Regions from separate parts of the Homo sapiens genome. Here regions 1, 2, 3, 4 and 6 are each linked to region 5. The links are contacts of gene promoters, found by promoter capture Hi-C in blood cells and fetal thymus (Javierre and others, 2016). All regions are on one chromosome and are shown on one strand. The core of a region is centred on a gene start or on the middle of the fragment in contact, and the rest is flanking DNA. Distances in the headings are between cores, read along the strand shown. Region 1 overlaps PHC2 (polyhomeotic homolog 2). Region 2 overlaps RNF19B (ring finger protein 19B). Region 3 overlaps RNF19B (ring finger protein 19B). Region 4 has its middle 8.7 kb from the start of AK2. Region 5 holds the start of TRIM62 (tripartite motif containing 62). Region 6 overlaps PHC2 (polyhomeotic homolog 2).

Evidence for each region. Contacts are between HindIII fragments. The CHiCAGO score rates a contact against its expected background, and 5 or more counts as called.
Region 1: a contact is called between a fragment that was not itself captured here and the fragment with the promoter of TRIM62 in region 5, in 2 of 17 cell types (neutrophils and fetal thymus). The highest score is 6.9, in neutrophils.
Region 2: a contact is called between a fragment that was not itself captured here and the fragment with the promoter of TRIM62 in region 5, in 1 of 17 cell types (naive B cells). The highest score is 5.0, in naive B cells.
Region 3: a fragment that was not itself captured here is called in contact with the fragment with the promoter of TRIM62 in region 5 in 1 of 17 cell types (naive CD8 T cells); the score reaches 5.0 in naive CD8 T cells.
Region 4: a contact is called between a fragment that was not itself captured here and the fragment with the promoter of TRIM62 in region 5, in 2 of 17 cell types (naive CD4 T cells and naive CD8 T cells). The highest score is 5.4, in naive CD4 T cells.
Region 6: a contact is called between a fragment that was not itself captured here and the fragment with the promoter of TRIM62 in region 5, in 3 of 17 cell types (neutrophils, monocytes and endothelial precursors). The highest score is 6.1, in neutrophils.

What each region holds. Positions count from the first base shown.
Region 1 is chr1:33,381,231-33,385,713 of GRCh38, forward strand. All of the region lies in intron 1 of PHC2 (polyhomeotic homolog 2), which reads right to left. Among named protein-coding and RNA genes, the nearest start is that of PHC2-AS1, 33 kb to the left of the region's middle. The HindIII fragment of the contact is 3,537 bases long and covers 125-3,661 here.
Region 2 is chr1:32,939,860-32,944,261 of GRCh38, forward strand. It overlaps RNF19B (ring finger protein 19B), which reads right to left. Exons shown (of 9, transcript NM_001300826.2): 6 at 4,160-4,300; 7 at 2,393-2,600. Among named protein-coding and RNA genes, the nearest start is that of RNF19B, 23 kb to the right of the region's middle. The HindIII fragment of the contact is 935 bases long and covers 987-1,921 here.
Region 3 is chr1:32,956,681-32,961,541 of GRCh38, forward strand. All of the region lies in intron 1 of RNF19B (ring finger protein 19B), which reads right to left. Among named protein-coding and RNA genes, the nearest start is that of RNF19B, 5.7 kb to the right of the region's middle. The HindIII fragment of the contact is 796 bases long and covers 1,645-2,440 here.
Region 4 is chr1:33,043,122-33,048,098 of GRCh38, forward strand. No RefSeq gene overlaps it. Among named protein-coding and RNA genes, the nearest start is that of AK2, 8.7 kb to the left of the region's middle. The HindIII fragment of the contact is 3,184 bases long and covers 993-4,176 here.
Region 5 is chr1:33,180,447-33,184,856 of GRCh38, forward strand. TRIM62 (tripartite motif containing 62) reads right to left here and starts at 1,597. Exons shown (of 5, transcript NM_018207.3): 1 at 579-1,597. The coding sequence starts at 986. It also overlaps a transcript of ZNF362 not described here. RefSeq lists an enhancer at 120-289 and silencers at 372-571, 1,162-1,231, 1,462-1,771. The HindIII fragment of the contact is 3,969 bases long and covers 1-3,395 here.
Region 6 is chr1:33,421,742-33,426,523 of GRCh38, forward strand. The region is part of intron 1 of PHC2 (polyhomeotic homolog 2); the gene reads right to left. Among named protein-coding and RNA genes, the nearest start is that of PHC2, 7.0 kb to the right of the region's middle. The HindIII fragment of the contact is 1,196 bases long and covers 671-1,866 here.

The DNA of each region.
Region 1 (4,483 bases), core at 643-3,142, 200 kb after region 5:
AGTGATTTGCTTGGGGGTGGGATCATGTCATATTTTCCCATAATACCTTGTGCTTCGTTCCATAGATGTTTGTTGAATAAAATTGCTTGAAATGCACCATACTCCATCCTACTCCTCATCTGAAAGCTTAATCTCTACCTCATCCACAAATTTCTCACCAACTAGTTTAAAACATCAGCCACCTGTGATTTCACTTCAGTACCTTCCATCAATGGTGTCTATACTAATAATAGTGATTATTTATTGAGCACTTACTACTTGTCAAGCACTATCATAGATACTATGACCTCCCTTATGGTATAGGTATGATTATCCCAATTTTGTCAATGAGAAATATATCTAAGCAATTTATGTAAGGTCATCATAGAACTGGGATTCAAAACCAAGTCCGACTCCAAAGCCAGAGCGCTTCCCATGATCCTCTCTGCAACTTCACCTTGAGCCATTATTTCAGCCACACTGGGTGAAGTCCGTGTCAAAGCATACTAGATTTTCAGTTGAAAACGAACTGATATCTCTGAATTTAATTCCCTAATTGTTAATTAATGTCCATTTATACTTACAAAATATTCTATGTAATATATATATAAAGGATAATATGCTTGTGTATCCATCAACCAGTATGAGAAATCAAAAATTACCATAATCTCCCTTGTTTTTTCTATGCAAGAACGGAGACCCAGTGTGGGGGAGGTAAGTGACTTGGGGTGATATGGCTCCCCTGATTCTCATCCAGTACCATGGAAGGCACCTCAGGAAACCTCCTGCCCGCATGGTGGTGGTGACTTATCAACGAGAGAGGTGAAGTTTGCCCTGCAGAGAAACCAGAAGCTAGGGTCCTGCCATATGTCACTTTATTGTTGGTCTCCTAGTAGAAGGGAACTTGAGTTGGAAGAAAACATAATTAGTAAGTGTGGACCCATATAACAGCTTTAAAACTTTTTTTTCTACAGTTCCCCTTTTTGAACCAGAGCTTTCATATCTCCCCCTTCACACCTTCCTTCCGCTCAAAGTTCTGGCTGCTGGAGAGTAGCGGAGGCATTCTGCAGTCTCAGTAAGGGCTACTGAGGCATCTGTGGACTCTCCTTACATCCTTCCCTCTGGTGACCCACATTAGAAAATCTGAATCCTTAAACTTTCACAGTATCTAGGCTTTCAGTATTCTACCCACCCCTTTTCAATTTCCTTTTAATTCCTACTCTTATTCTTTCCTTCTCTTCCAACTAGTTCTTTATTTCTTCCCCAAGGCCACCCATCCCTGCGGACTCCCATTATAAATCACAGCCAAATCTCATTAATGGCTAACATCAAGAACTAGAAGTCTGTTTTTCTCTGGGTTCCTACTCACTGTGTGGTTTTGTATGAGCCCGGGCTCTGAAGGGCTATGATTCCTATTTAAGTCACTTCTCCCCTCCTAACTGCAATGGGCCACTTTGAATGATGTGCTGAATATAACTGGCTTGGATAGTGATCTTATTACAGGTCTCTGCTGCCCACAGGGCCTGAGACCAGCAGCTGGAGAAACGCTGATGGTTCTGCCCTCCCAGGAGCCGCCAAGTCTACGAAACACTAGGCCTTTGTCCCCAGTGTCAGGGAAATCCATTTGCTGTGGATTACAGCTGTGACAGAGGTTCCGGGAAAGCAGAGGGGAAGGATACTGAAAACCTCTCTCCAAATCTAGCCTAAAGCCCTGGGGTAAGGCAGGGTGAGGTTTTTCCTAATGGAATCAGAGCTGGGCAGGAAATGAGAAGTCTCGTCAGCCCCATCGTGGCTGCTGGTATTATCATGAGGCGGCTTGGTATGGAGAGTCTGAAGAGATGGGTGAACATATTCCTTTGCTGTGGCTCTGCTTCTCCTTTCTGGATGCCCCTCCGCCAGAGGCATAAGGCAGTAATAACAGAAGATTCAGACTCCCTAGACTTAGGGGACCTGGGGGAGGCCTCCTTACACCTCTCGGCTGCTGCATGAACATAAGTGTCCTGATTTGTTCCAGTCTGAAGCCACTGACTCACTGGGAGCAGTCCAAATGGATGCAGCTCAAACCATCTCAAAAGGTCCCTCCCTCTCCCCTGTCCTCTGCATGTTGCCACCTTTAGTGTCTCTAGAAACCAAAGTAAGTAAATGAAGGCCAACAAAAATAGAAGTGAAGGATGAGGAATTAAAGCTGGTCATATAGTCCTAGCAATCCAAACAGAATGATTTCATTGTGATGCAAAACACTATAAATTTAAATGAGTAAACTTTCTGAAACCTTACTGTTTTCTTCCTAATTTATAAAAGGCAGGTTATATCAAGTATTTCTATAACAAGGTGGTGCTGGTTGGTTGAAGAATATGAGGAGGAAAAAGAAGGATTTGCTGTCTTTTGGAAGGGATGTACAGTGAAAGCCACACTGTGCAGATGCTGAATGCTTGGGGACGGGATGGATGAGTTTGTCTAGACTTGGGCAGCCCTGGACTCACTGCTGTAAGGCAGAGCAAAATATATTCTGTGTCTTCTATGGGCCCCTAATCAAATATAAGCAGTGTCCTTATAAAAGAACGCCATGTGAAAACAGGCACACACGGGGAGAAGCCAGCCACGTGAAGATGGAGGCAGAGATTGGAGCTATGCTGCCACCAGCCAAAGAACACCTGCAGCCACCAGAAGCTAGGAAGAGGCGAGGAAGGACTCAGGGGGAGCATGGCCCTGCCGACACCTGGATTTCATACTTCCAGCCTCCAGAACGGTAACATGATACATTTGTGTTGTTTTAAGCCACCCAGTTTGTGGTAATTTGTTAAGGCGGCCTTAGGGAACTATTATGCTGCCTAATACTCAACCTGACCAGCCTAAAAAGGTCAACTGAAACTAATGGTAAAAAAGGGTGCAAAGGCATTAAAAACAGCCTCGTTAATATCATGGCTTTGTATGCTCCAAGGCAAGGCTTCTCAAAAATGTGGTCCCTTGGCAACTCTCCAAAAATGCAAATTTTCAGGCACCACTTCAGACCTACGGAATCAGAAATTCTGGGAGCAGGGCTCAGCAGCCTGTGTTCTCACAGCCTTCTGGGAGATTCTGATGCTGATGAAGCATGAGAGCCACTGCTCTAAGGGGCCCCACTATCCATTTGAATATGAGATTTAAAAGGGGCAGTCATCATTGATGCCATAAGATGGTCATAATGAAGTCCCTGCAAAAAGGGGCTAGAATTTGAGATGGGAAGAGTTACCAAACATAGTTTCTTCCCTGCTGAAACCTCAAAATACCTCCACGTGGAAAGAAAATGTTGGCAGCACTCTGTTTAGGGATCTTCCTGTTTCTCTCCAGCTTCATTGCCTACCACGTGCTCCCACACAGCTGATTCCAGAATTAGTCATATGCTGTCTCACCCCTTGCCCAGACCTTTCCCTCTGCCTGGGCCACTCCCCAGGCCCCTCACTCTCCATCTCCCTGGCCGGAGCGCATTCACCCTTTGCAGTTCAGCTATAACGTCTGTTCCTCTTAGGGACTTCCTTTTTGTACCCCAGCCTAGATTTGGTGCCTTCTTCTGAACTTTAATAGCATAGCAGGACAGCTGATTTTATTTACTAGGTAGTGATTCCATTATTTTTAGATTCCTAATGCCTAACATGGTGCCGAGCCAGCAACAGTAAGATTTTGTTAAATGAGGAATGAATAAAGCTTGAAGCTCTTTGGGAAGCTCTTCACCTCCTGATGAGGAACCCAAGGTTAAAATACCGAAACACACTGTGCAAATACCATGTTATCTGAGAAGGGACCTTTGAAACTATTAGTAGCCATTAGCACCTTTACTCAAATTTGTGGGTCCAGATGGCTACTCTCAACAGGGCCTAGGACATGTAAATTTTGATTTGGGAATGGAGAGGGGAAATGAAAGATGAGTGGTGTTGAAGTGATGGGTGTGGGACTGTGGTCACTGCAAAAAGCAGATGTAGAAGGTCCTGGCCAAAAGGCTGGGACTAGACCCAGTCACACATTGACTAGGTGGGAGCTAGGCAGCAGCATTATGTGGAGATCATAATACCTTACCCCGACCTCCCAGAGCTTCCGGAAAATGAAACAACATAAATAGGAGAAAGCATTTCGGAAACAAAAATCACACAAAGGCAAAGTATCATGAGAGAGAGTTTAGAAAAGGGGAGAGACGTTCTACTCCATAAAAATGAGCAAACATTGCCAGGGCAGGGTTTACATACAGGAATGCAACCCTGGCCATGTTACGTAACCTTTCTGCGCCTCATTTGCCTCTCTGTAAAATGGACAAGAGTGCAGACTTCATTGGTTTTAAATAATAGGTAAAACAATGCATTTAAAACATCCAGCACAGCTTAAGCATGGATTACAAAGAGAGTACATTAAGGTAGGACAGAAGTTGACTTTTTTTCCCTCAGAGAAAAAAGATACTATCATTTCCTTCAATAAACTCAAAGTTAGATTTTGAGACCGGCTGGTCTCAGGCCCTGTGGGCAACAGAGACCTA
Region 2 (4,402 bases), core at 204-2,703, 240 kb before region 5:
TCTCCAATTATGTCTGTCTGCTTATTTACAGGGGTGTTGGTTTTAAGAAAGCACAGCAGTGAATATGCCAGCATGTGGGGGCGGGATCCCCTGATAAGAGACAACCAGAGTCATGAGATGCACAGACGGGTCAGTAGCAGCCTGCAGCTGCACATTCAAGCAGCTTCCATCCTACTGCCTGAGCCTTTGCTTTGCTGCTCCAGCTTCAGGTGCCCTTCAAAAATGTGCCAAGGCCCAGGGAAATGAGGGAATGCAATGGAAAGTGCACAGTGTCAGAGACCTGGCTTCTAGTTTCAGGTCTGCCACAGAATCACTCTGAGTTGGAAGAGTCTTTCAGAAAGGGCTCCTACTTAGGTGGTTGTCAGATGCTGGTTCATGCAACGGCTGTGCTAGAATTACCTGGGGAGCTTTTGCAAAACACGGATCACCCCCTAGGTGCCACTCCAGGAAATTCTAAGCTACTCATTCTGGGATGGGTCCCTGAAGTCTATTTTTAAGAGGCTCCCAAGTGATTGACAGGCACTCAGGTGGGAGATCCAGTCCACCTGCCATCTGTTGCTTGAATCCTTCTTATAGCCAAATAGCCATCTGGTCTCATTGTAAACATTTCCAGGGATAGGCAGCTCAGTATCTACTAAAGTAGCCTTTTTCCTCTTTGGGCTTTCATGTTGCTTTTCCCTATATTCTCTATACTGAACCAAAATTAGTTTCCCTTTAGCTTCTGCCAAGTCATCTTAATCTACCTTTTGGTATGAGGCATAGAAGTCTAATCCTTTTCACAGTTGAAGGTCCTTTGGATAGCTGAAGGCAACCATCTCCTCTACCTTCCTATCCTGCTTTGTTCTACCTTTACCCCTCCCTAGGCCTTTCTTCTCCGTTGCATTCAACTGCTTCTCAGGCAACATGTTATGCTCCTCTGAAAATATACACTCTGGTCTGCCTAACTAGTGAAATGACCAAGCAAGTCACAATCTTTTTAGTTACAAAGCTTTACATATTTTCAACACAAGTACATAGAATTGATTTTCCTTATCTAGCAAATGGAAATAGAAAGGTAATAAGGATTGCAGTATCACTAAACCAGCTGGGGGCAATGGTTCATGCCTATAATCCTAGCACGTTGGGAGCCAAGTTGGGAGGATGGCTTCAGGCCAGGAGTTTAAGACCAGCCTGGGTAACCGAGCAAGACCCCATCTCTACAAAAAATTTAAAATGTTAGCTGGGTGTGGTGTGTGCACTTGTAGTCCTAGCTACTCAGGAGGCTGAGGTGGTAGGATTGCCTGAGTCCAGGAAGTTGAGGCTGCAGTGAGCCATGATTGTGCCACTGCATTCCAGCCTGGATGACACAGTGAGAAAAAAAACAAAAAAAAATCCCCAAAGCCCACTATCAATAAACCATGATGGGCTGGGTGTGGTGGTTCATGCTTGTAATCCCAGCACTTTGGGAGGCTGAGGCGGGTGGATCACAAGGTCAGGAGCTTGAGACCAGCCTGGCCAACATGAAACCCTGTCTCTACTGAAAATACAAAAATTAGCCAGGCATGGTGGTGCACGCCTGTAGTCCCAGCCTCTTGGGAGGCTGAGGCAGGACAATCACTAGAACCCAGGAGGTGGAGGCTGCAGCGAGCCAAGATTGCACCATTGCACTCCAGCCTGGGCGACAGAGCAAGACTCCGTCTCAAAAAAATAAAATAAAATAAATAAGCCATGATACAGCATAAATGCTACTGAAAGCCAATGACAAGCCTAACGGAGAGCATTTTACGAATTCTATAAAAATGCCTACTCTCCCTTCCTGAAGCAGGCAGCCTCAGGCAGTCAAGGGGGAATCTCAAGTCAGGATTATTCTTTATATAGAGGCAGCTATGGTGCAATGGAAAGAACAATGAACTTTGCATAACTGACGTAACCTTTTTTTCTAAGCTTGTTTCCTATTTGTAAAAGTAAAAAAAAAAAGGCCTGTCGCAGTGACTCATGCCTGTAATCCCAACGGTTTGGGAGGCCAAGGCGGGCGGATCACGAGGTCAGGAGATTGAGACCATCCTAGCTAACATGGTGAAACTCCATCTCTACTAAAAATACAAAAAATTAGCTGGGCGTGGTGGCGGGTGCCTGTAATCCCAGCTACTCAGTAGGCTGAGGCAGGAGAATCGCTTGAACCCAGGAGGCGGAGCTTGCAGTGAGCCGAGATCACGCCATGGCACTCCAGCCTGAGCCACAGAGTGAGACTCTGTCTTTAAAAATAAAAAAGTAAAAACAAAACAAAACAAAACCATTGACAATTAAATCAAAATAAGATGATACGTGGCACAAGCCTGGCACAGAGAAATGGCTCAATGTGTTACTTCTTATAATTCTAACCATTTCTGTCAGAAATTATCTATTTGTTTACCTGCTATATTTTCCCTTGCCACTGGAGAGAATGCCGCCACTCAGCGTGCCCCCTGAGAGGGCTGCAAAGCTGGCCGTTTCGCTGTAAGGACCTTGCATAACACTAAGTCCATCTGTAGGGCTTCCACTAGTGCTCAATACACTAGTCAGGCCTTCAATGCTGCTTTCCCCAATGCTGGGATTCTTGAGGGCTCTCCAGGCATCTGCCACTGGGGATAGAACCAAACATCCAATTCAAGACAGCAGAGCATCAAAACAGTCAGTAGGCATTTTCCTGCAATGACTTTTCAGAGAACTAATGTATTTACTTAATGAACAGGTACTGTGTGCAGTCGCCACATATCAGGTGTTTTAACATATGTTCATATTTAATCCTCCAAATAACTAGGCATTAATAGCCTCAATTTTAGATGAGAAAACTAAAATTTAAAACTAAATGACTTGTCCAAGGCCATGGTAGTTACATGAAACTATAACTCTGATTCCAAGGCCACTATTCTTTCCACTACACTGTTGCTTCCATGTAACCAAACGTGAAGATTTAAAAAATATGTTTGGGTCATGTGCTGATTTTAATAGGAAGCTTCTAGTAGAAAGCTAGAAAAACCGGCCGGGCGCGGTGGCTCACGCCTGTACTTCCAGCACTTTGGGAGGCCGAGGCGGGCGGATCACGAGGTCAGGAGATGGAGACCATCCTGGCTAACACGGTGAAACCCCATCTCTACTAAAAATACAAAAAATTTAGCCGGGCGTGGTGGCGGGTGCCTGTAGTCCCAGCTACTCGGGAGGCTGAGGCAGGAGAATGACGCGAACCCAGGAGCCGGAGCCTGCAGTGAGCCAGGACCATGCCACTGCACTCCAGCCTGGGCAACAGAGCAAGACTCCGTCTCAAAAAAAAAAAAAGAAAAGAAAAAAGGAAGCTAGAAAAACCTTTGGGGTTTTCTACGTTACTTGTGCCCTACGTTACTTACTACGAGTAGAAACCACATTAAAGTAAAAGTCAGAAGACTTGCCCTAGTCTCAGCTCTGTGAAGCTCTTAATAGATAGTAAGATGAAAGCTTAAAGAAATTCCCATTTAGGCCAGATGTGGTGGCTCACACCTGTAATCCCAGCACTTTGGGAGGCCAAGGTGGGCGGATCATGGGGTGAGGAGATCGAGATCTTCCTGGCTAACACGGTGAAACACCAAACCCCGTCTATACTAAAAAAAAAAAATTAGCCAGGCGTGGTGGCACGTTGCTGTAGTCCCAGCTACTCAGGAGGCTGAGGCAGGAGAATCACTTGAACCTGGGAGGCGGAGGTTGCAGTGAACCGAGATCGCGACATCGTACTCCAGCCTGGGTGACAGAGACTCCGTCTCAAAAAAAAAAAAAGAAATTCCCATTTAAATGGGGATAACAGCTCCATCCTCCCTCGTCAGAGAGCTGTTTGTTGTAAAAAGCAAGTGAGATAATTGTGTAAAATACTCTGAAAATTATCAAGTACTGTGCAGATATAAAGATGTTATTATAATCACTACTACTACCAGCATACTTGGAGTTACTTGGATTCCTACTAGTTTGTACCTGCCACACAGAGGCAAGTACCAGGGGAATTAACCTAATAACTTTGGAACAAAGAAATGAAAAGCTAAAAATACTTTACCCCCTACAAAGCTCATTATCCAAAGTAATCCAATGACAATCTCCCTGTAAAATGCGCTGAATTTTACTGATTTTTATCTTGTATATCATAAATTCAAATGGAAATAAACATCCTGCTTTTTACCTGTGATTGGACCATCATCTTCATCAAATTCAATTTTCACTCCTTTTCCGTTGGCTGTGCTAACTCCACAGCCGCCTCCACGACAAAGAGAAATGGGCACAACCCCATAAACATATGCCAGCATAATGGGGACACCAATACCTGGGGGAAGAGAAGGAAACATGTCAGCTGGCTATTAGGTTGCAAGTGCCCTGAATTCTTCTTCCCAGTCTGGGCATGGACAAACCACTTTATAAAGAAAGG
Region 3 (4,861 bases), core at 793-3,292, 220 kb before region 5:
CTTCAGAAACTTCATAAAGTGACAAGCTAGACCACAGCATTACTTAGCTTCAGCCCTGGAAAGAGATTTCCATTAGTATAAATTTGATTATGCTCCAATAGACTTCAGTGGTTAAAGAAATGTGTTCCTATATTATGTCTGTACTTTCCATCCCCAAGTCATGTAACATAACTAGGCTACCCATTTACAAATAGACCCCTAGTAGGCATCAGGGTGGTAGACATGCGCCAACTTGTCACAATGAACTGTACCCTTAACATCTTCATTTTTCCTGCCCTATTTAAGACCCATCTCTAGGCTAGACAACTCCAAGAGCCTCCTTATCTGCTCTCCCTATTCCCCACTCCATCCAAATTCCATTCTGGAAGGTTACTCTTTTGCTTAAAATCCTTCAAAGAAAAAGAAAAAAGAAAAAAAGTGCTTCAACCCAAAACTTATTTCCATGGCTTACACAGGCCTATCAACCTGAATCCAGTCCACGTTTTCAGGTTGATCTCTAGTCATTTCCCAGGTATGGGGTCTTGCTATTACCCAGGCTGGTCTCGAACTCCTGGGCTCAACTAATCCTCCCACCTCAGCCTCCTAAGCAGCTGGGACCACAGGTGCACACCACCATGCCTGCTCCTCTGTGAAGTCTTTCTTGAAACCATCATGCAAATTCTATTGTTCTTTCATCTATCTAAGAGCACCCGTATTTTCTTTAGTATTTATCATATGACATTTGAATAATTTTCTATCTATCTATGTATCAATTATCTGTCTCCTCTACCAGGTGAAACTTCCTATCAAGAAAACCATGTCTAAGTTCTTTTTGAAATACCCAGTACTCACCCAGGGTTCAACAGTGTATCATTCTGAAAGTATCTGTTGAAGCCAGGTGTGGTGGCTCACACCTGTAATCCCAGCACTTTGGGAGGGTGAGGCGGGTGGCTCGCTTGAAGTCAGGAATTCAAGCCCAGCCTGGCCAACATGGTGAAACCCTGTTTCTACTAAAAATACAAACATTAGCTGGACATTGTGGCACATGCCTGTAATCCCAGATACTTGGGAGGCTGAGGCAGAAGAATCGCTTGAACCCGAGAGGCAGAGGTTGCAGTGAGCTGAGATGGCACAACTGCACTCCAGCCTGGGCGACAAAGCGAGACTCCATCTCAAAAAAAAGTTGTCTGTTGAATTGAATGATCACCTGTCTATACTATTCTTGCTTATCTCTTTCATCTCTATTCTTCCTCTGAGAACTATGCTGCTCATATTTCTTATCTTTTTCATCAAAATTCATCTATGTACCACACTCTTCTAGAGCCTAATTGAAAGACTTTGTACACAGAGTTGTAGAAATGGTTGGAATATAGATATCCTAGTCTAGAGACATGAGCTCTCAATCTATTCAGAGCATAAGGTTTATGGTTAAATAAGGACACTAACCAAAGGCAGGCCAGCATGGTAACTATTAAAGGAGTTTAGGGAAAGTTTGAGTTAAGCCTTAAAGATGCTACAGAAAAAACAAAAACCTGTTTCCTGGTGATCTAAATTGGGGAAATTACATTATATTGAAGATTTATACTACATATTAGCATATTAGCATGTTTAAAGATTTAAGAAACTCATAAACTTGTTTTATTTTGTTTAACTCAGTATTTTCCAAGCTTATTTCCTCACAAAACATTTTTCTTTCAAGTAATGCCTATAACATACCTTAGGAAATAGTGATGTGAGTGAAAAATAGAAAATAAAATCAAAAGATGGTTGGAGATGGCCGGGCGTGGTGGCTCACGCCTGTAATCCCAGCACTTTGGGAGGCTGAGATGGGTGGATCACGAGGTCAGGAGATCGAGACCATCCTGGCTAACACGGTAAAACCCCGTCTCTGCTAAAAATACAAAAAATTAGCCAGGCATGGTTGCAGGTGCCTGTAGTCCCAGCTACTCAGGAGGCTGAGGCAGGAGAATAGCATGAACCCGGGAGGTGGAGCTTGCAGTGAGCCGAGATTGCACCACTGCACTCCAGCCTGCCTGGGCAACAGAGCGAGACTCCATCTAAAAAAAAAAAAAAGATGGTTGGAAACTGTAAAGGAGCTTAAATGATAAGGGTAGATCAAATAAGTTCTCAAAGACATAATAAGAACTCATCTTATAGGTTAGGTAGTCAATGAATAGTCTTAGGCAGGGGAGTGATACAGATGTTCTCCTTTAGTACAAGTACTTTGGCAAATCTGAGACAGATGTATTGGGATGGAGGTTGGTGTACGTGCACAAGAGGAGGGGGTGGTGTGGAGTTGGGGAATGCAGGGAAAAGTTGTGGAACAGGAGGTATGGAGCCAAATCAAGAGAAGAGGTTCAGGGAGGCTTCAGAAAGCAAAAATCCTCCTTCACTGACTGAAATTTGTCTTGCTCAAAGAGCTTGCTTGATCTTCCCTCATAAATGTGCTAGGGATGAAAAAAGCTTCCTGTTTATGGGATGGTCCAGTCTAGTTGTCTGGGAAGGCCAATAGCTGATACTGTTTCCTGGGATCAGGTGGGAGGAAGGATTCTGCAGAGGACAGAGGCAGCAATGAAAGGCTGGAGTGGTGGACCTGCACAAAGAATTTAGGTCAAGACAGCCTTATCCCTTCTTATTCATCTGTACAGAAGATCTGCCCCTGTACACCAGGAAATTTTCTGTTGCCTACTTTGCTCACCCGTCAGTCTCCTAGAGATTCTGAAAGGGTTTTAAGATTAGCAACAGGATACTTGAGAGGAAAACATTACAGTTACCTGACTTCGGGGTTTCTGAAAAGACATACTTGGGCAGAGACTCAAAAGCGTAAAAGATCAATTGTACCAATTATTAGCAATGAAACACTAGGCCCCATGTTTAAACTTCTCTGAACTGGTTTCTCCTTTATAAAATGCACGCCAATATCCACCTGGATGAGACTAAAATGAAATTATGTCTGAATGAGATTATAGTCTGAAGACTATAAAGAACTATAAAAAATCAGTTATTTGTATTTTGAACTAATTTTATCTCATTTGACAGCTTGTTTTAAGATTATACTAGGCCATATTGTTCTTAGTATATTAAATAATAATGTGAGGCCGGGCACAGTGGCTCACGCCTGTAATCCCAGCACTTTGGGAGGCCGAGGTGGGCAGATCACGAGGTCAGGAGATCGAGACCATCCTAGCTAACACGGTGAAACCCCGTCTCTACTAAAAATACAAAAAAAAAAAAAAAAAAAATTAACCAGGCGTGGTGGTGGGCGCCTGTGGTCCCAGCTACTCAGGAGGCTGAGGCAGGAGAATGGCGTGAACCCGGCAGGCAGAGCTTGCACTGAGCAGAGATGGTGCCACTGCACTCCAGCCTGGGTGACAGAGCGAGACTCCGTCTCAAAAAAAAAAAAATTATAATGTGAATGTTTTCCCACTGAAATTGGTTCCCTTATTTATGAATAAAATAAAACCATATTTGAGTGTAAGAGAAGAAAAATCCAAAACTCTTTGCTCTATCCTACAAATATTCTGTAAACAAATCATGAATCTCTGAATGTATGGTGTTCTTGTTATTATGAGTAATTATAGTAAAACTAATGATCAGAACCTGTAAGATTGCTCACATGCCCCCCTCACCCTACCAAATGCACATACAAACAAGGCAGAGGGGAGACCTGATCAATTTGGCTGGCAAGAACTTTATCTGTGGGCAGTAAAGATGGTCAGGTATGGGAATAGGAGGTAACTGGGACTTGGACTTCTCTTCTAGTGTTTATCAATGACCTCTACCAGCCCCAGAAGAATAGAACGATTTGTTTAAAAAAATAAAACAAAGGAGCAGTGTGCAGTGGTTCGTGCCTATAATCCCAGTTACTCAGGAGGCTGAGGTGGGAGTACTGCTTTAGTCAAGGAGTTCAAGGTTGTAGTAAGCCATGATCATGCCACTGCACTCCAGCCTGGGCACAGAGTGAGACTCTGTCTCTAAAACAAAACAAAACAACACTGTTCAAAACAAAACAAGGGAACCATGACATCCAGTAAGAACACAGAAGCTATTTTTTTTCCTGGCATTAAAAAGAGGCAGCAATAATCCCAGCACTTTGGGAGGCCAAGGCGGGAAAACAGCTTGAGCCCAGGAGTTCGAGACCAGCCTGGGCAACACAGGGAGACCCTATCTCTACAAATAATAATAATAATATTAATAATAATAATTAGCTGGGCTTGGTGGCATGCACCCGTGTTCCCAGCTACTTGAGATGCTGAGGCAGGAGGATCGCCTGAGCCCAGGAGATTGAGGCTGCAGTGAGCCGTGATTGCACCACTGCTGCACTCCAGCTTGGGTGACAGAGCGAGACGCTGTCTCAAAAAAAAAGAGATGCAAAGCCACTAGGCACATCCCAAGGGAGAACTCAGGCATCTATTTGGCAACTAACAGAATTTTAAAGTTACTCCCTATAACCACTTTCAACTGAAGATCTCAAAACACCGTGTAAACATTAATTAAACCTCTCAAGTCAGGAAAGAATTAGACCTATTTCAGATAAGAAAAATAACGTAGGTAGGAGGCTGTTAACAACAGGAATCAGAAAGGAAACTAGACTCTAGTATCTTTGGCTTTCTCCATGTTGTCCTCAGGCTACACTTAATGAAATGCACCCAAGCAGCAGCATCCTCAATAATGCGGCTATGTTGACAAGCAAATGCTTTTTAAAACAGGGGCTGAATGGAAGGAATATTGGCATTGGTTGGAATTAAGACCCCTGTTCTAAGCCTGGTTCCACCACTTACTAGTTATATGACCCTGAACAAGTCATTCAATTTCCTTAAACTTTAGTTTCCTCATTTATAAAACTATATCAAACCTAAACCTATCTCACAAGGTTGTATCG
Region 4 (4,977 bases), core at 1,335-3,834, 140 kb before region 5:
GACTTGACACCAGACCAGATGGGGATAAGAATGACTGAGTTGAGGGGCCAAGCGACTGGGGGGGATGATGGTGCCATTAGTATTCATCTCATTCATTCATTAGCTGATTCATTCAACATGCATTTAATGAGCATTTATTATGTGTCTAGTATTGTGCTAGATGCTAAGGATCCAGTGGTAAATAATGAGGCCAGGGTCGGTCTAGGCACAGTGGCTCATGCCTGTAATTTCAACACTTTGGGAGGCCGAGGTGGGAGAATTGCTTGAGGCCAGGTGTTTGAGATCAGCCTGGGCAACATGGCCTGGGCTTGAGCAGTGGGAGGTCCTGCCTGGGACTTTGACCCTTGAGGGACAGAAAGGAAGGGGCAGGGTCTGTTCTTGGCGGGGAGGTGAGAGTCCAGCAGCAGTGGGTGGACAATGACCAGTCATGTCTGTCCAAGTAGTCTTTTCCTGTACCATGTCTTTGGCTGTGTTCTTAGCCTAATTGCTTTTGGTTTCTACTCATGTTTGAAATTTGTGAGAACCCCAGAAAAAATTTAAAAAATTAGCCCGGTGTGGTGGTATGCACCTTTGGTTCTAGCTGATAGAGCAGGAGTATCACCATCTTGGACAAGCACGGCCATTTTAAAATTCACCTTAATCAAAAACCGTCTAAATCCAAAGGGCATCAGCCTAATGGCTTAGGTCAGCATGACCATAAACCACAAATAACATCTCCAACCAGAAACATTCCAAACTCCTCCTCAACCAGAGACATGCTAGCCCCGAAATAACCCCCCTCCAGCTGGGAAGATGCCAGCCCTGAATATAACCCCACACCTGCTGAAAAGATGTCAGCCTCAAGATAACCTCCCCTCTGCCCAGAACATTCCAATCCCGCCATAAACTTCTCCCCAACACATAAACATTCCAAGCTTGTAATAAGCCCCCTCACCCTAAAACCAATATATATCTCTGTAAGAGAAAGCACTCCTTATTTTTTCTCTAAAATAAGCTTGTCTTTAAGGGGTTAAGTCACGTTTCGTGTTTCTTTCTTCTTTCTTAACTCTTACACTAGCTACTTGGGAGGCTGAAGTGTGGGAATCACTTGCTGCCAGGAGGTTGAGGCTGCCATAAACTATAATTAGCCCATTGTACTCCAGCCCAGGTGACAGAGCGAGACCCTGTCTCTAAAAACAAAACAAAAGCAAGGTTTCCACCTTTAGAAAACTCTCCACTTCGGGCTGGGCGCAGTGGCTCACACCTGTAATCCCAGCACTTTGGGAGGCCGAGGCGGTCAGATCACCTGAGGTCAGGAGTTTAAGACCAGCGTGGCCAGCATGGTGAAACCCTGTCTCTACTAAAAATACCAAAATTAGCCAGGTGTGGTGGCATGTGCCTGTAATCCCAGCTACTTAGGAGGCTGAGGCAGGAGAATCACTTGAACCTAGGAGGCAGAGGTTGTAGTGGGCTGAGACTGTGCCACTGCACTCTAGACTGGGTGACAGAGCAAGACCCCATCTCAAAAAAAAAAAAAGAAAAGAAAAGAAAACTCTCCACTTCTACAGAACTTGCAGTCAAGCGGGGGAAAAAAACAAAAAAAACAACAAATAAGACATTGACGGAGTCTGTGCTGGGAAAGGTACAGGCTTCAGTAACAGCACAATAGAGGAGCCCCCAGCTCAGATTTGAGGGGAAATGATGTGTAAGTGAGATGAAACCTTAAGAACAAGGAGGATTTGCTTAGGGAAGAGAGGGAAGAAGGGTATTCTAGACAAAGGGAATGGCATGTGCAAAGGCCTGGAGTTAAGAAAGATTATGACAAGAGGTTGGGCGTGGTGGCTCATGCCTGTAATCTCAACACTTTGGGAGGCCGAGGTGGGCAGATCACCTGAGGTCAGGAGTTCAGGACCAGCCTGGCCAACATGGTGAAACCCCATCCCTACTAAAAATACAAAAATTAGCCAGGTATGGTGGCGAGCATCTGTGATCCCAGCTACTCGGGAGGCTGAGGCATGAGAATCACTTGAACCTGGGAGGCGGAGGTTTCAGTGAGCCAAGATCATGCCACTGCACTCCAGCCTGAGGGATAGAGCAAGACCCTATCTCCAAAAAAAAAAAAGAAATATTATAGAAAGTTGAGGGGAACTGTGATATTTGGCAGAGGAACACCCCTCTTGTGTTGTGGAAATCCTTCACTGCAAGGAACTTGGGGGAAAACAGAGCCACCCTGCAGAAGCTGAAAGGGCAGACTCTTGCCTGCCTTCTTGGCAACAGGGGAGTGAGCACGTGACCAGGCTTGGCCAGTGGGATGTCCTGCCCAGGACTTTGACTCTTGAGGGAGAGAGAGGAAGGGGCAGGGCCTGTTCTTGGTGGGGAGGTAAGAGTCCAGCCTCAGTGGGTGGACCGTGGCCAGTGGTGGCTGTCCAGGTAGGCTTTTCCTGTGCCATGTCTTTGGCTGTGTTCTTAGCCTAATTACTTTTGGTTCCTACTCATGTTTGGAATTGGTGAAAACCTCACAGTATTCAATAAATTCCTTCACTGCTTAGGTTAGCCACCAAGACTTCTGTTTGGTACAGAGTTGAAAGAGGGTCAGTCTGGCTGGAGTTACAACTCAAGAGGGTAAGGAAAGAAAAAAGGGGGAGAGGAGACAGGGTCCTATGGGAAATTCTCTTGGGGGCTTTTGTGGGAGGCTTTGCTTTCCAGGAAAAAGAGATGCACAAGAAGAAAAACTCCCTTCCTGCCTGCCTCAGGGATGATGCAGCGCTTGAAATGTAGCAGCTATCTTGGGACCAGGAGGGGAGAGCTGCGAGACTCAGAGGGAAGCTGACCTAGGGTCTGACATCACTGAGCTGCTGAATTAAGCAACTCAGATGTCACCTTCTTCCACACTTCCTGTGATGAGAGATAAACCCCTAATGTTCAAACCGCATCTATGTCGGCATTCTGATACTCACTGCCCAAAGCACCTTATGTGACATGGCAAGTAACTTAACCCTGCTGGGCCTCAATTTCTCTTTGCAAAATCAGGATGCCGATACCCACTTCACAGGATCACAGTGAGTATCAGATTACATAATGGATGTAAAGTACTTAGCACGGTGCCCTACTCATGGTAAGCACTCAGTAAATGTTAACTATTACTACCTGCGTCAAAGACATAGAGGAGATGAGCTTGTTTTGTGGGAGGGTAGAGAGGAGAGAAGAATGACGACTAAAAGCTGGGAAGCCAACACTTGAGGGGAAAGGAATCAGAGAATGACTAGAGACTAAAGAAGAAAACCTGAAATTTCATTCTACCCACCACATCCTTTTTTTTTTTTTTTTTTAAGACGGAGTCTCACTCTGTTGTCCAGGCTGGGGTGCAGTGGTGTGACCTTGGTTCACTGCAACCTCTGCCTCCGGGGTTCAAGCAATTCTCCTGCCTCAGCCTCCTGAATAGCTGGGATTACAGGTGCCTGCTACCATGCCTGGCTAATTTTTGTATTTTTAGTAGAGGTGGGATTTCACCATGTTGGCCAGGTTGGTCTTGAACTCCTGACCTCAGATGATCCCCCACCTTAGCCTCCCAAAGTGCTGGGATTACAGGCATGAGCCACCGTGCACGGCCACCACATTCTTTTTCTTTTTCTTTCCCCTTTTTTTTTTTTGAGACAGAGTTTCACTCTGTTGCCCAGGCTGGAGTGCAGTGGCTCGATCTCAGCTCACTGCAACCTCTGCCTCCTGGGTTCAAGCGATTCTCCTGCCTTAGTCTCCCAAGTAGCTAGGATTACAGGTGCCCACCAACAGACTCGGCTAATTTTTATATTTTTAGTAGAGACGAGGTTTCACATGTTGGCCAGGCTGGTCTTGAACTCCTGACTCAAGTGATCCACCCACCTCGGCCTCCCAAAGTGCTGGGATTACAAGCATGAGCCAATGCCCTCAGCCCATTCTATCAATTTTTATCTGCCCTGTAAGGCCTTTGTTGATCTTTCCTTCCTTCCCAAGCCTGGCCTTTGTCCCATCTCTTCACTTAACTCTGTTAAATGTGGGGTTCATGATATCAGCTTGACAATCCCAGATTCTTTCATTCAGGAATTCTCTGGACATGCATCAAATATATCTCTTGGAGACACTCTCATTTCCAGGAGTTCCCAGTTGATATGCAAATTAGGCCTTTATAGTTACTTCCAGACACTTGGAAACTGTGAGTAAAGCTTCTCCAGTCTGCCTCTCCAGTCTATTCTATTAACCACTATGCTATGTTGTCTCTCATATGTAGTGGGACACTGATTAGTGTTTATTGATAGAAATGATGAAGAAGGAGTGTTACCAAAGCCAAATAAAAAGTTTCTGGGAGTGTATTAGTCAGCTTCAGCTAAGTTATATTGCAGCGACAAATAACCCCAAAATATCAGCTTACAGAAAGGGTTACATGTTAGCTGCAGGTGATGCAGGCTGAAGGTTCGGTTCTTGGAAGAGAGGGAAAAGGTACACTGGTATGCTGGTATAACTTGCATTAGAGAAAGCTGATAGTGTATATCTCTTCCCAACTTTGTGCTCAGTAATGTCACATTGGTAGCTTGAAATCAGTTATGGTGGAAGTACATATACTACAGAATGTGGCAAATATTTTCCCTCTAGAAGAGCCAGTTGTTAAATGTTTACTAGCACAGGACTGGAAAAAAGGAAAATGATGGGATCTCTTGTTGGCCCTTAAACCTTCTGCCTAGAAATGGCACAGGCCATGGAAATGCTACAGGTCACATGCACTTACATTGTACTTGTCAAAGCAAGTCTCATGGACAAGCTGCAGTCAATGGGGCCAGGAATGTACTTCTTCCACTGAGAGGCACTCAGTAGGTGAGGCAGGGAATATTCATGAACAATAGCACAATCTTCCTTCCTGGCGGAGTCAAAGGTGAGGACTGAGAAAAATCCCTTGGAATTGGCCTCAAGGAGTTTGCCCTTTAACATGAGAGCAGTTTCAGCTGAAGGAAGTGACTTTTATTTTAC
Region 5 (4,410 bases), core at 347-2,846:
GGCACCCTAACTTATACCACTCTATTAGGTTTCACCCTCACCTGTCCAGCACATTCTAGCCCCCGTACTCCTCTTAGTCCTGATGCACATCTGATCCGGTCTCCGCCCCCACAGAACCCCCAGCCTGCCAGAGCTCAGCTACCCGGTTTAATACAGACCCATCCTCGCGACCTCGCCCTCAGTCTGACAGTGGCCCTGCCTTTGCCCAACTCTGATTCCGGTTCGTCCACAACCCTGCCCCAGCCCAGTATCTGGTCCAGTTCTGATCTCACTTGTTTCCGCCATCCCATCCGCATCCCCGACTTCTCCCTAACCGCGGACCAGCCGGTACTCCAGGTCTGTCTCAGATCCCTCAGGGTCCGGACTGCCCAAGGCCCCGCCCCCACGGCCCCGCCATGCGGCGGCCCCGCCCCTCCCTGCCCCGCGTTACTCCTGATAGGGCCCTGACCTTGCTGGCGGCCCCGCCCCAGGACCATTCTGACTGGGCCTGGCCCGCGGTCCAGCCCTGACCCCACCCCCCGCCCGGCCCCACCTCCAGCCCGGCCCCGCCCCTTCCCCAGGCAGGCCGGGTAGCGCACCTGCAGCTCGTCGAAGGCGTCGTCGATGCCGGTGACCTGATGCTGCTCGTGCAGTGCAGGCTCGTCGCAGAAGAAGCAGAGAAGCGCGCGGTCCGTGAGGCAGAAGAGCTTGACCTTGTCGTGCGCCTGGCAGGGTCGCGCGGCGCGGCGCGCGTTGAGGATGGCGTCCAGCGGGAAGGAGCTGTAGCGCTCCACGATGTTGGCCAGCTTGAGGCTGGGCGCCAGCGCGGGCTCGGCGAACGTGCGCCGGCACTCGGGGCAGTCGCGGGCGCCCTGCGCCTCCTGCCGCACCCAGTGCTCCGTGATGCAGCGGCGGCAGAAGTAATGCTCGCAGCCCAGGCTCACCGGGTCCTGGTAGATGCTCAGGCAGATGGAGCACAGCAGCTCGTCCTTGAGGCTGCACGCCATGGCGCCAGGGGCAGCAGAGAGGGGGGCCCGAGGGGCAGGGGGGCGGCTGAGAGAGCGCGGCGCTGTCGGAGGCAGCACCGAGGGCTGGGCGCGGGGACGAGGCCCGCACAGGCAGGGGTAGGAGCTACCGGAGAAGGGAGGGGGTGCTGTCCGGAAGGAGGGTAACGCGAGGAAGGGGTGCGCGGCTGAGACTCCGTGGGACGCCAGCCCGGGAGGGCAGTCTAGAGGTAGTGGGCAGCTCAAGGCGATGGGCGCTGGGAGGAGGCTGTGAGCGGCTGAGGGACGGAGATCCTGACGGGGAGGTTCTAGGGGGCGGGGCAGTCCTAAGGGATAGGAGCTGGGAGAAGGGGATCCCGGAGCGGGGTGGAGCCCTTAAGGGGGTCGAAATCCCGGGGTGGGGGCGGTGCGGGGAGGGCGAGAAGCTGGGGATGGGGAATCCTGGGGGAGGGGGCAGCCAGGCCGAGCCGTACATTGGCTGTGACCGGCAGAGAAGAGGAGGGGTGCCGGCCCGCTCAGCTGCCGGATCCCGGCCCCAAACCCTGGCCCAGCGCGACCCCTTACCCCCGCGAGCTTAGCAGCCACCGCTTCGGTCCAGCGCAGCCTCTCAACCCGGAACCAGCCGAATCCGAGCTGCCGGTGGCCGCGGCTGCCTCCCCGCCCCCGTGGGCGGGACCCAAGCAACTCCGCCCCCGCAGCGGGCGGGGGAGGGGCGGGGCCACCAGCCGGTTGACCCCGCCCCACCCCCACCATCCTCCAGCTCCCAGGGAAGCGAAGCCCAGCTGTTCCTTCGGGGTGTGTACTTGGAACTGCATCCAGGTCTCGCTTAGGGTCCCCGCGGCGAGGCGGAGCAGCTAATTTGAGAGCACAACAAATAAACAAGGAGCATCTTTCTGGATCATCGATTTGAAGATGTAGAAAAAATCATATTTTGTATTAAAACGAACAAGAATATATTTGGAATACAACTTCTGCATAAAATATAAAGATAAAACTCTTGAAATGCCCTGCTTGCTTAGAGCGAGTTCAAGGCCCTCACACTCCTAAGCCCTGGGGTCCCATTTCCTCTTCACTTTCTTAAGGAGTGCTTGGGGAGAAGTTTGGAAAGCCCTGGCTAACATCTGGCCCCGGAGGCTGCCTCCATTGGCAAACAATTCTGGAGTGCTGTATTTGTGTGTGTGTGTGTGTGTGTGTGTGTGTGTGTGTAAGGCGGTGAGGGGTGGAGCAGGAGAGAGGGAGAAAAAGTAATAGGAGAACTTGTCTTGTGTGCCAGATGGAGAGGGGATAAGGGATTTCTAGGCAGAGGAGACAGCCTGTGCAAAAGCATAGAGGCGTGAAAGGGGAGGGCGCAGTGAAGGAAGTGCTAGTAATTCTGTACTGTTGGGGGTGGGGTGGAGAAGGAGCCTGGGTGGGCTGGAGGGCATTGTGGGTCATGGTAAAGAATTTCTTGAAGGCATGGGGCTTTCAGGCAAGGGAATGACCTGGTCCGATTGGGTTTCAGGAAGTCTTGGAGATAATCATTATACCATCTGCAAGGTGAAGAAGACAGGGAGCTTTTCCAATGTGTCTGCGGATGCACAGCACTCAGCACACAGTAAAGGTGTGTAGCTGAATAACCGCATCAACGCCCTGGGTTGCAGGAGGAAGGAAAGACTGGGCACCCCTAAGGTGCTGTTGTCATCGTGCCTGCAGGAGGTGAGACCCGAACTGGGGCCTCAGCAGTGGGTAAGGAGAGAAGACTAGGGTATTGCAAGTACAGACACGGTGACATTTGGTGATGGTTGGATACGGGGGTGAGGGAAATGAGCCATAGAGGGTGGCTACCAGTTTCTGCCTCCTCCAGAAATATCTTCATTGGTGTTAAACTTTATTGAGGTACAGTTTATGAAAAAGCTCTCAGTTTAGTTCTCTATGGTTAACACTTTCTCCATCACACCCTCATCTGGCCCAGAATCTCCATCATTGCGAGAAAAATAGTTGGTTGCTCATGCAACAGCAGTTTCTCAACATTTTCTTATGGGCAGAGCCCTGATTTTGGTCAGGTGGCCCCCTTCCCCAAGTGACCCAAGGAAGGCTGACCCCAGCCCATTTCCAGGAGTGAGTCTTGTTTGGTCCAAGTCCATTATGGTGGTCTCATGGAGTGAGTCTTGTTTGGTCCAAGTCCATTATGGTGGTCTCATTCCTCTTGCCAGTGACGGTTTGGGCAGGTCCAGCCTGAAAAACTAAAGGGGAAGCCTATGGCAGAGAGGGGTTTTCAGGAAATGGTCTCTTTACTTTGCAAAACAGTCTGCCCCCTTTGCTGGGATATGTTTGGTGGCAATGCTTGGAATTGCAACAGCCATCTTGCTCCCAGTCTGAGGATGCAGCAAATACAGAAGGGAGGGCAAGGCCAAGAGAGTCCTAGGGAAGAGAAGCTTTTATTCTGATGCAGAGTCTGGACTTCAGGATATGTGAGATGGTCCATCTTATTGCATAAGCCAGTTTAACAGTAGTGCATTGTCACTTTGCAACCCAGAGAATCCCAACTGATATACTGACGTGCACCCCTAATGAGGGGGTGGGGAAAGTGAACAGGGCAGAGTCTAAATTATTGAAGCATTTGAAATGAAATGAAAAAAAAAAAGGCTTGATGATGGATGAAACAGTGACTTCATTATTCAACATGTATTTACTGATGCTGACTCCAAGCAGGTCTTTGTGAGGAGGTGGAATAAACTATGCTCCTTGCTCCCAAGGAGCTGGCAGTCTAGAGGGCAAAATCAATGAGAAATTCTTATCAGGCACAGTAGGGCTTGCTAAGCATTCTCACATATATTATTGGATTTCAGTCCCAAAGCAGCCTTAACTAGTTTATATTATTATCCCCGTTTTATAGAGGAAGATACCAAGGCTCAAATAAAGGAGATGTGATGGAAATTGCTAGCTGTCCACTAAACTTCATCCTCCTGTTCTTCTATGTAGTAGAGTAGCAGTCGGAGGAATGGCTGGTCCACTAGAGATCATACATCCCAGCTGTTCTTGCAGCCGAGTGAGACTTGGTGACTAAAATCTTTCTAATAGAACATAAATAGAAATAGACCTTAAGGCATGAAGCTTTTGCTCTCCCATGCTCCATTTTCTCTTCTCTTGAGTTGGAACATAGATGTACCAGGGACACAGCTTCAATAATGCTTCAAAAGGGCTGATGGAGCAAAGATATGGGAGGATCCTGGGTTCCTGAATGACTGCATGAAGTACAGCCACCCTGACATGGACTACAGAGTGAGAAGTAAACTTATTTTCTAAGAGCCATTGTATTTTGGGTCTTTTGTTGCAGCAGCCCAGCTTTCTCCATACTATTTTGCAGCTGTTTTTATTATTTATTTATTTGAGATGGAGTCTCGCTCTGTCACCCTGGCTGGAGCACAGTGGCATGATCTTGGCTCAC
Region 6 (4,782 bases), core at 19-2,518, 240 kb after region 5:
AACTGGGGTTGAATGAACAAACATATATATTCAAGAGTAAACATACTGGCAGTAGACGAGAAGGCTCATTAAAGGTTCTTCGCTAACTGCATGATTCCGTCTCTGGTCTCACTCCTGCCCAAACCACCCTTCACATTGCTGATGTGTTCTTTCTAAAAGGCGGATCTGATCTCGTTACTCCTAAGGGCTTTAACAGCTCCCTATGGCCTCCACCATAAAGTCCAAATTCCTTAGCCTGGTAAACCAAGCCTTTTGTGATTTGATGCCAGCCTACTTTTCAGCCTTATTTCTGCAATGACCCTCCTCAAATGTTCTGCTGTGGTCTTGAAAGGTTGTTTGGAGGTCCCCCCATATGTGTTCTCTCAAGCAAATACAACCTCACCTTTGCAGACATTGCTTCTGTCTGGCTGAGAAGCTTCCTCTTACCCTGTCACTTTCTCCAGAAAACTTTTCCTAACATTTCTAAGCAGGGACCATACTTCTATTATGGTACTAAGTACAATACCATAATTAATGTTTCCATGTCTTTCTTTCTTTAGAAACCTCTGTAGTACCTGGCCTGGGTTCTCCTCATCTTTGAATCCCCCCAGCTGCTAGAGTGAGGTATAGAAGCTTATTAAATGTTTGTTGAATAAATAAATATGATTGTAGAGGCCAAAAATAGAAATAAAGCTTAAATACTCAGGTAAACAAAGACAGAAGGATACTAAAAGGATGGGCAAGCCCATCCCTGTAATCAGAAGATTTTGTCATGGCTTGAAGCTACAATACACCCTTCCAACTGAGCTTTGTTATCATGATCAGAAACCAAATTTTTGGCTGGTTATACAATGGGCCTGACCTAGTACCACATTCCCTACTTATATTATTCCAAACCATTTCTAATACTCTGCCTTTGAGAAAGCAATTTCATTTTCACGGGCTTTAGTGTCACCATCTTATGTGAAGTAACCTCTATTTCAAAATGCCCTAAAAGCCAAGTTCTGCCCTCTTATTCTAATTCTCATTTTCTCTCTCTCTTACTAGGCGGAATGGAAAACTTCCTTGGTAATTTAAGAATGAGAATAGTCTGAGCCTAAATTTACTGTATACTTTAGGCAAGTTATTATACCTTTATACATCTCAACTTTCTCTTCCTTCAAATATCAATTCTATCTAGGAGGCCCCAGGAAATAAAGAAAGGTAAAACCTACACAATTCTTATTATGTACCTCACATTATTAACCTGTTTAATTCTATAATTCTTCGAGGTAGGGACTGTGATTCTCCCCCACTATACCCAAGAAGACTAGAGCAGAGAGAGTACAGATGGAAGGCGGCTGGGAAGTTCACAGCTCATGAGTGGCAGAGGCAAGGCTGGAACCCCAGCATTATGGCTCTAGTGTCCCTGCAGTGAACCCTTACCTCCAACTGCCTCTCTGCAGGCCAGCGGAAGATACTGTGCTTGGAACATAACTCTAGCACATTGAAGTATTAAAGGGCTTAAAAAGTATATACTTTTTCAAACAAATGCAAGCCTTATTTGTAACTGAAAACAAAATAAAAGTGGGAAGAGAAGGAATGGAGACACTGAATGGTAGGCTTCAGATATGGGACAGTGTTCCATATTTCAATCCAAATGCATTTTACAGCCAAGATTTTAAGACCTGAAACCATCCATCCCGTACAGCTAAAATAAGAAGGATCTCATGATTTTAGCCATCAAGGAGACGGATGTGTCCTACACTGGTACTATATCTAAAATTAAGATGACACTGTCACTAGATGAACATCTACTTTGGGGTATGGCTTTATGGACCAATGAATTAGTTTTTTCTCAGGAGCAGCAACCAAAGAATAGAAATAACAGAAGATACACTCCTGTTAAGCTTTTTGTACAGAAGCAGAATTTTATTTCTAGAAACAGCATTAAATATTTAATTAAGTTCACATTACCCTATACTAAAAAAATTAATTTGGGGCAAAACTTGGAAGAACTAGGTGTAATGCAGTACTTTCAAATTATCAACTGCTTATAATTGTATTTCCTTCTGGACAATGAAAATACATATTTTTTATTTAGAAAGTGCTGAATAAGGCCGGGCACATGACTGATGCCTGTAATCCCAGCACTATGGGAGGCCGAGGAGGGCAGATCACGAGGTCAGGAGTTCAACACCACCCTGGACAACGTGGTGAAACCACATCTCTACCAAAAATACAAAAATTAGCCGGGCATGGTGGCACACACCTGTAGTCCTGCTATTCGGGAGGCTGAGGCAGGAGAATCGCTTGAACCTGGGAGGCGGAGGTGGTGCAGTGATCCAAGATTGCACCACTGCACTCCAGCCAGGTCGACAGAACGAGACTCCGTCTCAAAAAAAAAAAAAACAAAAAAAACAAAAAACAAAAAAAAAGAAAGTGCTGAATATTTGTTGAGTAAATTAATACTATTATAGAGATTGATTCATTAATACTATTTTAGAGATAGATTCATTTCCAGATGGTTCCTTAAAACGAACGGGTGCCTTATAATAGTCATCATTTGTTCTGGAGAACTTACTCCTCAAGTCTCTTGAAAAGTCTAAAGCCACCTTTATCTGTACCCATGGTTTCTACATCTTTTCTTCCCCCATTAGAAAGAGAACAGAGAAAGATCAGGTTACATTGCTTCTGTGGGCCTGTAAAAATTCCTGCGAGGTTCTCTCTTCTGTCAGGAAAAGTTTCCCTAGCAACCATATTTACACACTCACTCAATTCCCTCCCCTCCTTTGATTCACTGGTGGGTATAAAAATTAATTTGCATTGATTTGCTGAAGCTTACAAGTTAATCATTCTAATAGACTCACAAAATTTTAGACGCTGGTCTCTGCCCAAAACTTGTTTCTCAAAGGGCCTGTTCACTTTCTTTAGAAATTTGAATGTAATTATCTTCAGTTTAAATATTTTTAAATACATTTAATATGTATTCGGAATGTTTCTGGCTTCAGGTAGAGAAAATAATATTTTTCTAAGGGCATCTGGCCTATATTATTAGTTAGGACGATCAAGAAACAAAGAGATACTTTAGTTCTGAGTAAGCAAGGAGTCAGATTCTTATCCAGCCATAATAAGGCCCTGGAAGATAAAAGTCAAGGACCAAAACAAAAAGTCTGGGTCACATGAAATGATGAATCAGGCCTAAGATTCTGGGTGATCAGAGGTCAGGACCTGGATAACAGGAATGGGACATGAATTATCAAGAATTGAGTTTCATTAATTCATTCACTAAGTATTTGCTGTGCAGCTACTAGGGCATGGTGTCGGGAAAAGAGCAGTGAATAAGCCAGACACAGATGTACCCTCATAAAATTTAAGAGTCAAATATCTGAATAGTGAACAAATGTTGATTTTATTATTGAACCAAGTATCTTTGGACTAGGGGTGCTCACTGTATAATTTCCTATAAGGGCCAGAATTGGTTTCAGACTAGGAATGGCACAGAGACCTATAGATAAAGATAAATTCAAGAAGTCTTCACTGGAGTAGATAAGTTGGCAAGTCAAGCAGTCTTGGACATATACAACGTTTCTTTACATTTAACCTTCAACAACGATATATGAGCCTATCACAGGAAACAAGGCTGGATACTTTGCAATATACCTACGTTTTATAAAGAATAAAGTGAAAGCCGATAAAGGTATGAGTTATTCTTAAGCTCTTTTAACAACCATTTACTGAGCATCTGTGACATTCAAGAAATAGTTTTAGGAACTGAAGTTAAGGGTATGAAAAAGACATGGTCCCTAGCAATTATAACAATGTGGTAAATGCTATAATGAGATGCTGAAGTACGAAGAAATATCAAAGAGGAAGATTACTAATTCTTAAAAAGCAAGCTGGGAAATGCCTTCTGAGAGGTAATGCTTGAATTGAGTCTTAAAAGATAAGTAGAAAATTTTGTTTTAAGCTGGTAAATGTTGGGGTAATTTGTTACACAGCAGTGGATAACTACTACAGTGCCTTATGGAGACCATGCCACAGCATAACTAGGAGACTATGGAGAAGACCCAGCCCAGCCATGTAAACTGTGTTTCATGATGTATACTGCAGTTTATATTGGACATCTCTTCATATTTTTCTTCTCACGTTTTCTTAGGCTTACCTGGTCCATGTTGGGCATAGAAAATGAGAACAAACACTCTGAACGGGGATGAGACAGGTAATGGGAGGAGGCAACACAATCTCAGTCTTGTCTGATTTCCCCCACAAAGGAATCCAGGTTGGTTGGCGTAGGACTTGGTCAAGTGGTAAGTGTCAAGTGATGTCAGGACTTGGTCAAATCATTACTCAGAGAGACCAGAAGTGAGAGGAGCAAGAGGATGAGTAAAAATTGTTTCTGAGAGAACCATAACCATGAAACCCAGAAAAACCTAATTGGTTCTCAGTTCACTAATCACTTTCCTATTTCTTTCCTAAAGCCAAAAATGAGAGAAAATAGAAGTTTCTGTTTTTCATGATTCATGTGGGTAGATGAAGGAACAGAGTAAGCAACAAAGGCAGGACAGAACAGAAGCATTCCAGACAATGGTGGCAACCAGTGGGGTTCAAAGCTGCTGGGGGGGGGTCCATGGTTTGAGGGTCAAAGGGTGGCATCAACGTGGTTAAAAAGGCACCAGATGAGGGCAGACAAGTTGTAGTGTACCTGTTCCACTCCAATTTCTGTTTCAGTACGTTGAAAAATGGTCTCCATATCTTCCCATGAACAAATGGGTATACCTGACTACAAAAGGAATAGAAATGAACTTGTGTTGTATTTAAACT